Linked DNA regions of Homo sapiens: region 1 is linked to region 2. Evidence: promoter capture Hi-C in human tissues and cell types (Jung and others, 2019). All regions are on one chromosome and are shown on one strand. Each heading gives the region's core, a stretch centred on a gene start or on the middle of the fragment in contact. The rest is flanking DNA. Distances are from core to core; before and after follow the strand shown. Region 1 overlaps UNC80 (unc-80 subunit of NALCN channel complex). Region 2 holds the start of CRYGB (crystallin gamma B).

Evidence for each region. The method cuts DNA at HindIII sites, captures the fragments that hold promoters and counts their contacts. A contact is called where the count stands out against the background at its distance.
Region 1: a contact is called between a fragment that was not itself captured here and the fragment with the promoter of CRYGB in region 2, in 1 of the 25 tissues and cell types used here (dorsolateral prefrontal cortex).

The regions. Positions count from the first base shown.
Region 1 is chr2:209,944,257-209,948,961 of GRCh38, forward strand. It overlaps UNC80 (unc-80 subunit of NALCN channel complex), which reads left to right. Exons shown (of 65, transcript NM_001371986.1): 46 at 795-933; 47 at 1,591-1,687. Among named protein-coding and RNA genes, the nearest start is that of RPE, 56 kb to the right of the region's middle. The HindIII fragment of the contact is 5,215 bases long and covers 616-4,705 here.
Region 2 is chr2:208,144,613-208,149,415 of GRCh38, forward strand. It overlaps CRYGB (crystallin gamma B), which reads right to left and starts at 1,546. Exons shown (of 3, transcript NM_005210.4): 1 at 1,500-1,546; 2 at 1,162-1,404. The coding sequence starts at 1,508. The region is part of intron 2 of LOC100507443 (a long non-coding RNA gene); the gene reads left to right. RefSeq lists an enhancer at 738-1,361. The HindIII fragment of the contact is 6,166 bases long and covers 1-4,426 here.

The sequences.
Region 1 (4,705 bases), core at 1,973-4,472, 1.8 Mb after region 2:
GGTTTCCCAATTTTCATTCCTTTTTGTCACTCTCTACCACCTACCCTGCTTTGTTTTTCTTTTTCTTCAGAGATTTTACCACCATATCACATGTTATATCTATTTGTTTCATTAACATGAATTTCTACGACACTCAACCAGCAGAATTTAATCTTCATGAAAGCAAGACCTTTGTATGCTTTTGTCTTTGCTTGTTTGTTTGGTTTTAGTTATTGTTGTATCGTTGTTTTATTTGCATTTTGTTTTTGGTTTTCTATAACCTCAGTGTGTAGCCTGGTGCTTGGCACAGAAGAACATCATAAGGATTTGTTGTTTCAGTGAATTATTTAAAGCCATTTTAAATAGATTTAAAATTGTAAGTATCTCCATGTGGAGATACATTATCAAAGAAGACCTGTGAAATTCCCAGCGTTGTTAGTTAAAATAAGCATACATTCCGCAAACATATTTGTAGTATTCAACCAATCAATTATAGAAATTTTCTTAGTTCTGCCATCTTCAATTAAAGGAACCATTGATATGAACTTTTTGGAAGTTCATATATCGCTGTATTTTTGTGAGCTTTTACAAATATCTCTTTTGTTCTATATTAGAATTTAATAGATCCCTTAAAAGTCAGGTGTACCACTCCAAAATCATACCACAGCATTGCGGGATCCAGAATTATGTAAGCTGAATTCCAGGTAGATGTTGTACTTGTTACTGGTAATAGCATTTATAAAATTTGAATTCCTGTCAAGTTATAGTTTTACTGTGGTGGGAGTCAATAAACAAAAATTGTTTTTCTTTATCAGGATGCTGCCAATAATGGGCCCAGCAAAGGTGTGTCAGCTCAGTGCCTGTTTGACTTGCTGCAGTCCCTAGAGGGAGAGACCACCGACATATTAGACATCTTAGAGCTGGTCAAAGCTGAGAAGCCTCTCAAGTCATTAGGTAAAAGCAAAACTTGCTTTGACATTCTTTTTCTCACTGCAGTTGTTAAATATAAATATATGTATTATACACACATACACGTATATTTATATGTGTGTGTATATATAACTAAATCAAAGTAGCAAAAATAAATGGAACAGTAGTAGAAATTGAATGAGTACATTTTTTTTCTTAAATTTCTTATGAATCCTAAAGAGTAAGGAATTCTCTGCCATGAAAACTATATTAAAATGATGCTCAGTAGACCACTGCTGTAGCACTGCAGTTTTCAGAAAGTTGGGTTATCTTGGGTAATTCTAAGTGAATAACTCTCCAAAATGGTCTTTTATTATCATGGAATGTGTAGAACTAGAGATAACTCCAGGGTAAAGCCTCAACCTTAGGCAATTTAAATGCCCTTCAGTGTCTTCTATTATCTGAGATTTTTTTAAACACTCCAGAAAAGTATTTTTATTTTACATCTGATTGTTCAAAACTAGAAAACAGAATTTCGTTCCCTTGAGATGAAGAAATTAATAGTTTTCACAGCGTAGGAATAAAATTTAACAAGAAAAGGCTACAGTATATACTGGAATGATAACATTAGGAGTAATAGGTGCTTCTTTATCTCCTGCAAAATCCACTCTGATAGTTTGCCTTTACTTTTTGTTCCTTCAGATTTCTGCTATGGAAACGAAGATCTGACATTTTCTATCAGTGAAGCCATTAAGCTCTGTGTCACTGTGGTGGCGTATGCTCCCGAATCATTCAGAAGGTATCTGCAGCCCTTTATTCTGTGCCTTGTGATAAGTAAATATGGCAGAGAAAATAAAATTGAATGAATACAAAGGTTATGCTGATTAATATCAGACTAACATTCTGACAAGTAAGCTTTTAGAAACTAAATTTAGGCCAGGTGTGGTGGCTCACACCTATAATCCCAGCACTTTGGAAGGCTGAGGCAAGAGGATTCCTTTAGCCCAGGAGTTTGAGACCAACCTGGGCAACATAGTGAGACCCTGTCTCTACAAAAATTTTAAAAAATTAAAAATTAGCCAGGTGTGGTGTTGCACACCTGTAGTCCCAACTTTTTGGGAGGCTTGAGGCAGGAGGATTGCTTAATCCCAGGCGGTCAAGGCTGCAGTGAGCTGTGATTGTCCCATTGCACTCTGGCCTAGGCAACAGAGTAAGACTTTGTCAGAAAAAAAAAAAAAGAAAGAAAGAAAAAAGAAAAGGAAAGAAGAAACAAAGTTTAGGAAACATAGCATAGGTTCTGGAAAACAATAGTAAATCTTCATTCATTTGAAATCCCTTAATTTGAATTTTGTGCAGATGCTAAGGTATTTAGTCTTGTTAGAAAATATTTTTCCTCACAAGTAATGTGAATTAGTAGCAAACAAAATTTCATAACAGATATTTATTTAAGAAAACTCCTTTCAAGGGGCAATAAGAATTTCTGTAACACAAAGGGCAAGAATATCAATCTTGCCTTCATTTTGCCAAGTACAGAGAATTCAAAGACTCACATGAAGAATGAGTCATCCCAATTCAAAGATGTTGGCTCTGGTCTGAGATTTAAATCTGATCTATTAAAAGTTGTACTCTGTTGACAAGCTCTTCCAGGAAGAAGGAAGGAGCCAAGCTGATTATGCCCAATATATCTTTATATATTTGCCCTGCACCTTAAGCCTGTTTCTCTCTCCCATAAGAGAATGAATAAGGGCCAGGAGGAGCGGGATTTATATTAATTGAACTCTTTTTACTGGAGGGACACATGAGGAATGAGTAAGAAGTGTTTTCCCCAATATTCTCGAATTTTTGTCTTCTGGAGCAATGGGGAGAAAAACAGTATGCCTGTGGTCAGGCACGGATGTGGCTGTGGCCTTCAGGAGAACAAAGCTGCAGGATGGTCTCATTTCTGATCTCAGGGTATGGAGGGGATTTCCTACTCCCATTTTCTTGCTGTTCCTATAATACCACTGATCTACAAAAAGTTCCAGAATGGATCAAATCCTGCATTAAGTTAACTCCAAATCCATTCTATACGTGATTGTAAACATCTTCTCTCTACTCTATTTGCCATTCCAAGTGTGTTCAGCTACGTTGTTAACCAGATATGTCAGATATTCTGCAATTGAGACACTGCAATAATAAAATGCATACAGATTCTCCAATATTCCTGCAACATAGAGAACACCTAAGTTTGACTAAAAAGTTCTCCCATTTCAAATTTTACCAAATTTCCATTGAGTCATAAAATTCTCTTTCAAGTCAAAATTCAAACACATTGAAATCAAAAGGTGTTAGAGTTCACAATCAAATTCCCTTGTCATTGTGAGTTAAAAGCCAAAGTCTAATATTGTTAAGTTAAATTAGAATTTTTTTTAATCCTCCTAATTTTCCATTCTGTCAGTTTAAACCAGATGACATCTTGATGTCTCAGTAAGGTCAGGGTTTCTTAAGTAGTGGTTCCCTGGGATATCTCTCATGGGAATAAGTAACATACCTATAGGACTTCAACATTTGTAACAGCAAGTCTCTGTTGTACTTAATTTTTTTTAAAAGTATTTTATTTAAGTGTAACATTCACATAAAACACTAAAAAAATCATAATTTTACAGTTCCATGAATGTTCATAATGTTATCACATCTACATAACTACCACTCAGATTGAAAAATCAGATAGAGGCACTACTATCCTGATTTCTAATATGATAAATCAGTTTTGCCTATTTCTGAAATCTGTTTAACTGAAATAGTATAGTAGCTACTTTTTAATGTCTGACTTCTGTCATTCAGTATTATTTCATGAGATTCATTCATATAAATGTGTGTAACAGTAGTTGATTCTTTTTCATTCACTTATAATAGTCATAATAATTGTATGACTATGTTACAATTTATTTATTTCTTCTCTTGTTATCAGGCATTTGTGTTGTATCTAGTTTGAAGGTATTATAAATAAAGCTGCAATGAATGTTTTTGTATATGTCTTTGTACACAAATATTTATGCATTTCTATGGATGGAACTGCTGGGCTAAGTCATGGACTATGAGTATTTCTTGCTTTAGTAGATACTACCAAAAAGTTTTCCAAGGTGGTTTCAATTTTCATTCCCACCAACAGTATGTAAATGTTCTAGTACCCTATGGCCTCATCAACACTTGTTATCTTCGGTCTTTTTATTTTAGCTATTTTGTTGGGTTGTAGTGACATCCATTATCATTTTAATTTCCATTTTCCTCTTTCAAATTAAAAGGTTTGGAAGCTTTTCAGATAAATGTTTATCAAAATTTGGACATCTCCTTTTGCAAAGTGCCTACTGAAGTCTTCTGCCCATTTTTAAATGAAGTTATCAGTATTTTTTATTTTATATGTGTGATTTCTTAGTGTTTTCTATTTAATTAATTATGTCATCTGCAAATCATGAGAGTTGTATTTTATCCTTTCAAATTCTTGTACACATTATTCCTTTCTCTGTCCTTAATGCACTGGCTAGAACCTTAATACAAAATGGAATAGAAGTGATGATGGTGATGATGGTGGGATCTTTGTTTCATTTCTGATCCCGGGGTATGGAGGGGATTTCCAATATTTCATCACTAAGAATAGTATTTGCTAAAGGATTTTGTTGTAATATACCTGTAAAGATTAAGGAAGTAATTTTATTACTCATTAAGAAATTAATTATTAAGGAGTCTGCCTTCTATTCTTAGTTTAGTTTGAGTTTTCTTATTGATGGATAATGAATATTACCAAATGTTCCTCTCTATTTATAGAGATGATTATATG
Region 2 (4,803 bases), core at 296-2,795:
CGGAATCTTGCTCTGTCACCCAGACTGGAGTGCAGTGGCATGATCTCAGCTCATTGCAACCTACCCTTCCCGGGTTCAAGCGATTCTCCTGCCTCAGCCTCCCAAGTAGCTGAGACTACAGGCGCGTGCCACCAAGCCCAGCTAATTTTTGTATTTTTAGTAGAGAGGGGGTTTCACCATATTGGCCAGGGTGGTCTTGAACTCCTGACCTCCTGACCTCGGCCTCCCAAAGTGCTGGGATTACAGGCGTGAGCCACCGCACCCAGCCTTCAGTTCAAATTTCAACCTATCTGACTTTTAAGCTTCCTTTCTAGCCTCCTGCTCTCAACTTATTTATTTCCCTCAGCAGCAAGTATCACCTTCATTAACTTCTGTTTTTATGACACTGTATCCCATGCCTCCCACACACCACAATTCTAAGAATTCTGCAGTCACTGCCCAGAAAATATGGAATCTCAAACTTTAGTTTCAGATTTGGCCTTTTCTCTAATTTATACCTCTAAGTGAGCTAATAGGTACTGACCATTAAATTAGAATAGAAATCAGAAGACAGGATCCTATCTTCTCAGGAGGAATAATCAAATAGAAAAGTAAGACAAAGCAAGCAAAAGTTTGTTGTTGTTGTTGTTGTTGTTGTTATTGTCGTTTTGAGATGGAGTCTCACTCTGTCACCAGGCTGGAGTGCAGTGGCACGATCTCGGCTCACTGCAACCTCCATCTCCCGGCTTCAAGCAAGCAATTCTCCTGCCCCAGCCGCCCGAGTAGCTGGGATTTAAGAATAATGTGATTAAATAGGCCGGATGCCGTGGTTCACACCTGTAATCCCAGCACTTTGGGAGGCCGAGGCGGGCGGATCACTTGAGGCCAGGAGTTCGAGATCAGCCTGGGCAACATGGTGCAACCTCGTCTCTACTATGAATACAAAAATTGGCTGGGCATGGTGGTGCATGCCTGTAATCCCAACTACTCAGGAGGCTGAGGCAGGGGAATTGCTTGAACCCGGGAGGCGGAAGTTGCAGTGAGCCGAGATCATGCCACTGCACTCCACCCTGGGGGACAGAGCGAGACTCCGCCTCAAAAAAAAAAAAAAAAAAAAAAAGAATATCATGAAATAGCTTTTATTTCCAAAAAGATGGAAGGCAAAGACAGAGCCACACTCACCGGGGGGATGAGGCAGCAGGAGCGGATGGAGTCGCTGAGGCCCATCCATTGCTGGTAGTCAGGGTACTCCCCACGCCGCAGGAAGTACTGGTGGCCCTGGTAGTTGGGGCGCTCATAGATCATCCAGCAGCCGCTCTCCACCCTGATGGAGTTGCAGCGGCTGAAATAGGGTTGTAGGTTGGGGCAGTCAGTGGTGCATTCGTAGCTGCGGCCCTGGAAGGCCCTGTCCTCGTAGAAGGTGATCTGAAAAATGGAAGATGTGGGAGCATGGAGTGATTGGCCCCCACTGAGGCCACTGCATTAGGGCCAAGGCTGAGCATCCGGTACCCAGGACTTACCTTTCCCATTTTGAAGGAAGTGAGCAGATGTTTTCTGGTTGCTGTGTGGGACTGCGGGAACGTCACTGTATGTATAGCAGCCCTGACTGCTGCCTCCACAGGAAATCACACAAAAGGGCCCATTTTGGTGAGTAAGGGGATTTGCAAGCTCGCTGCTCTCCGTGCCCAGGTCACTGGGGTTGGCTGAATGGTTTACTCTCATTCTTTCTGGTAGGTTCGGGTTGTTCTAATTCACTAAAGCTGTTGTTGCCATCAAAATGAATAGAGTACACTTTTAGTTGAGCAAAAGGATGGGCGAAATTCTGTCTCTGTGCTTTTATTTTATAGTTTACTCTGCTTAATTGACTTCTCAAAAGTCATTAAACTAAGTAATGAATTCTGCTCAGGGACTGGTGGTGTTTTTGTGTGTGTGTGTGTGTGTGTTTTAGTTCTAAAAGCCAGAATTTAAATAGTAAGGAATCTTAAAGAAGAGGGAATCAAGTGAAGTAATCTGTGAAAGTGTGTTAAAACCCATAAAGCTTAGTTCAAATTCAAAATTCTGTGATCAGCCAGGCGAGGTGGTGCACACCTATAATCCCAGGACTTTGGGAGGCTGAGGCAGGTGGATTGCTTGAGCTCAGGAGTTAGAGACCAGCCTAGGTAACATGGTGAGACCCCATCTCTACAACAAATACAAAAATTAGCCCTGCATGGTGGCGCATACCTGTAGTCCCAGCTATTTGGGAGGCTGAGGTGAGAGGATTGCTTAAGCTCAGGAGGTCGAGGTTGCAGTGAGCCATGATTGCACCACTGCACTCCAGCCTGGGCAACAGAGCAAGACCCTGTCGCAAAAAAAAAAAAAAAAAAATTCTGTGATCATCATTGTTGGTGTTTGGGGGCTTGTCTTGAATAAAACTGATACTTGCCTGGAATTTTGTAGGCTTCTGGGGGCTGGGTATTATTTCTTGTTCATGTCTATCCCTGAGCCCTAGAGCAGAGGGTTGGCACATTGCAGGTCCTCAATAATTGGCTCTGACCTGAGCAAAAACAGATAGTTGTGGCTTTCTTCCCCCTTTCAGATCTTCCTAAGGGCCTAAATCCCTCCTTCTGCTGGTGGCTGTCCAGAGTCCTGCCTGCTGTTTGGTGTTCCTGCTCTGCCTCAAATGTTACCACTAAGTGGCTGATTGGTCTTCTCAAGGCATGGGACCAAAAGGGCTCAGAGTTGGTCCCTATTGCTGGCAGATTGGACATTCTACAGTGGAAATAGCTGGATTAGCCTTAATAAGTAGAAGTTAATGCATAGCCTTCATCCATACCACTATGAACGCTCTCTTAGTGAGCTCACTGCCAGCAGTAGGGTGGCTGATGGCAGACGCTGACTGGAATCAAATGACCAAATCATTTTTTCTACTTGGTTGTTTAGTGCCTCTTCAATGGTGGATGCCCTACACTGGGCCTTCACATGGGATACAACTATCTTCGCCCTTTGTGCCCAATCCCATATCTCCCTGCACATTCCTCTACCCCAGACCTTCTTGTCCCTAATCTTCCAATCTTTCTCCTTCCAGGCCCTGGACCAGCCAGCCAAGCCACACATTACTGCTCAATAATTCCATATATGCTTGACCTTGGGCTACTTTTCTTTCTGCACCGAGTGAGCAGCCAGGTGCACTACCTCAAGGTTGCCTTTTGGGAGGATTTCCCTCACTGCTGTCTTTAGGGTGACTCCTGAGTGAGCTATTCTGCAGCAGCATTCTATTTTGGGCTTGTACCCAAATGCCATGCCAATTTATTAGTGTATCAAGCTCAGCCTTCCCCCACTCTATCAGCTGGTCAGAAGGGACCCCTGCAGGCAGTTGTAAGTGTGAGCTGAGAGAGAGCTATTGCAATAATGGTGACTTCATCCCATCCCGCAGGGAAGGCTAGGGCTAGAGTTGTCAGGAACTTAGGCAAGTGGACCGGGAATCTGTGCCTCTGCATTGCCCCGTAATTTGATGTGGGCTGCTGCCATGGAGAAGTGTAACTTTGGGCAAGGCAGCTTCCTCCAGCAGAAGAAAATTCTTGGAGACAAACTCAGCTTTAAGCTGTCAGCATCTGGGAGAAGGAGTGCTTCAGTCCACAGTGGAAGTCCAGGCAGCACCAGAGCGTCCACTACAAGAAGAAAATAAAGCTGAGATAACTGCAGTTAACATTTTGGTGTTTCATCATCCCAGCTTTTTTATATGTCAAACCCATGTGTGGTTGTACAGTGTTATTTATACTGTGTAGCATTCTCTTGTTTTCTTCTAAGTCACCTTTCAAATAAAGTGATTAGTAATACTGATTAAGGTGATCACATTTAGCCTTTTAATACATATATATATATTTTTTTTGTGAAGAGAAACTGAATGAAAAATCGTTCTAGACTCTCTATTGGTTAGCTATACCCATGCTTGAGGTCTAGGCAGTATTCAGGAGAATATCATTCACCCAGTGGACTCACTAAAACAATGTAAACAGTCTTTATGTGCTGAAAGTTCTAACTCTTAAAGAGACTAAATTAACAACCCTGTTTGATGTAAGACCTAACATACTCAGTGTGATGCATAGGTGGGTGTTTGAGGATCATGATGAACTATCATGTAGTGAGCATTGATCTGATTTAAAATTACCCAGATTTTTATCTGCAGGATGATGTTTAAGTGATTGAGGACCCTAGAGTAACTTCCTTTAAGTCATACAAATTCAACCAGTCTCTGGTTCTGATACGTAGAAGAATCAGTAATCCTATGAAAGAAAGATAAACTAAGTATTAGGAACACAAAATCAAAATCTCATTGATTCTAATAGAAGAAATTGAAGGATTAAACATATTTCAGCATCAGTTGTGACTCTTCTTGAAGGGCTCACTTTGACATTTGTCTTCCCCTAGTGGTGAAATTCCTGTTTTCTTTGGAGCCTCAGTAGGAATTTTCTCCCCTACAGTTGGGCATCTCGCAGAAGATTCAGGGTCTTTTATAAGTCTAGGGATTGGGAGAAGATATCCTTGAAAGGAACTAATCATGTATGTGGGAATAGTCTTCAGGGAGCCCCAACATGAGGCCTCCTTACCTGGTACTGGGAGCTGGTCACTTTTGAAAAATAAAAGAGAAGAAAGAAGATGAAAAATAGAAGAAAGAAGAAGAAATTAGTGCATGATCTTGTTATTATGGCTTTATAAGATCTTATATAATGTATAAAAGCCTAACTGAAGATAAAATTTGTTCAGTGCTTAGATTACACAAATCGGAGAGTCTGCCTTTGACTTGGCACGTTAATGAGCATTATAATTCAGGCACATTAATGA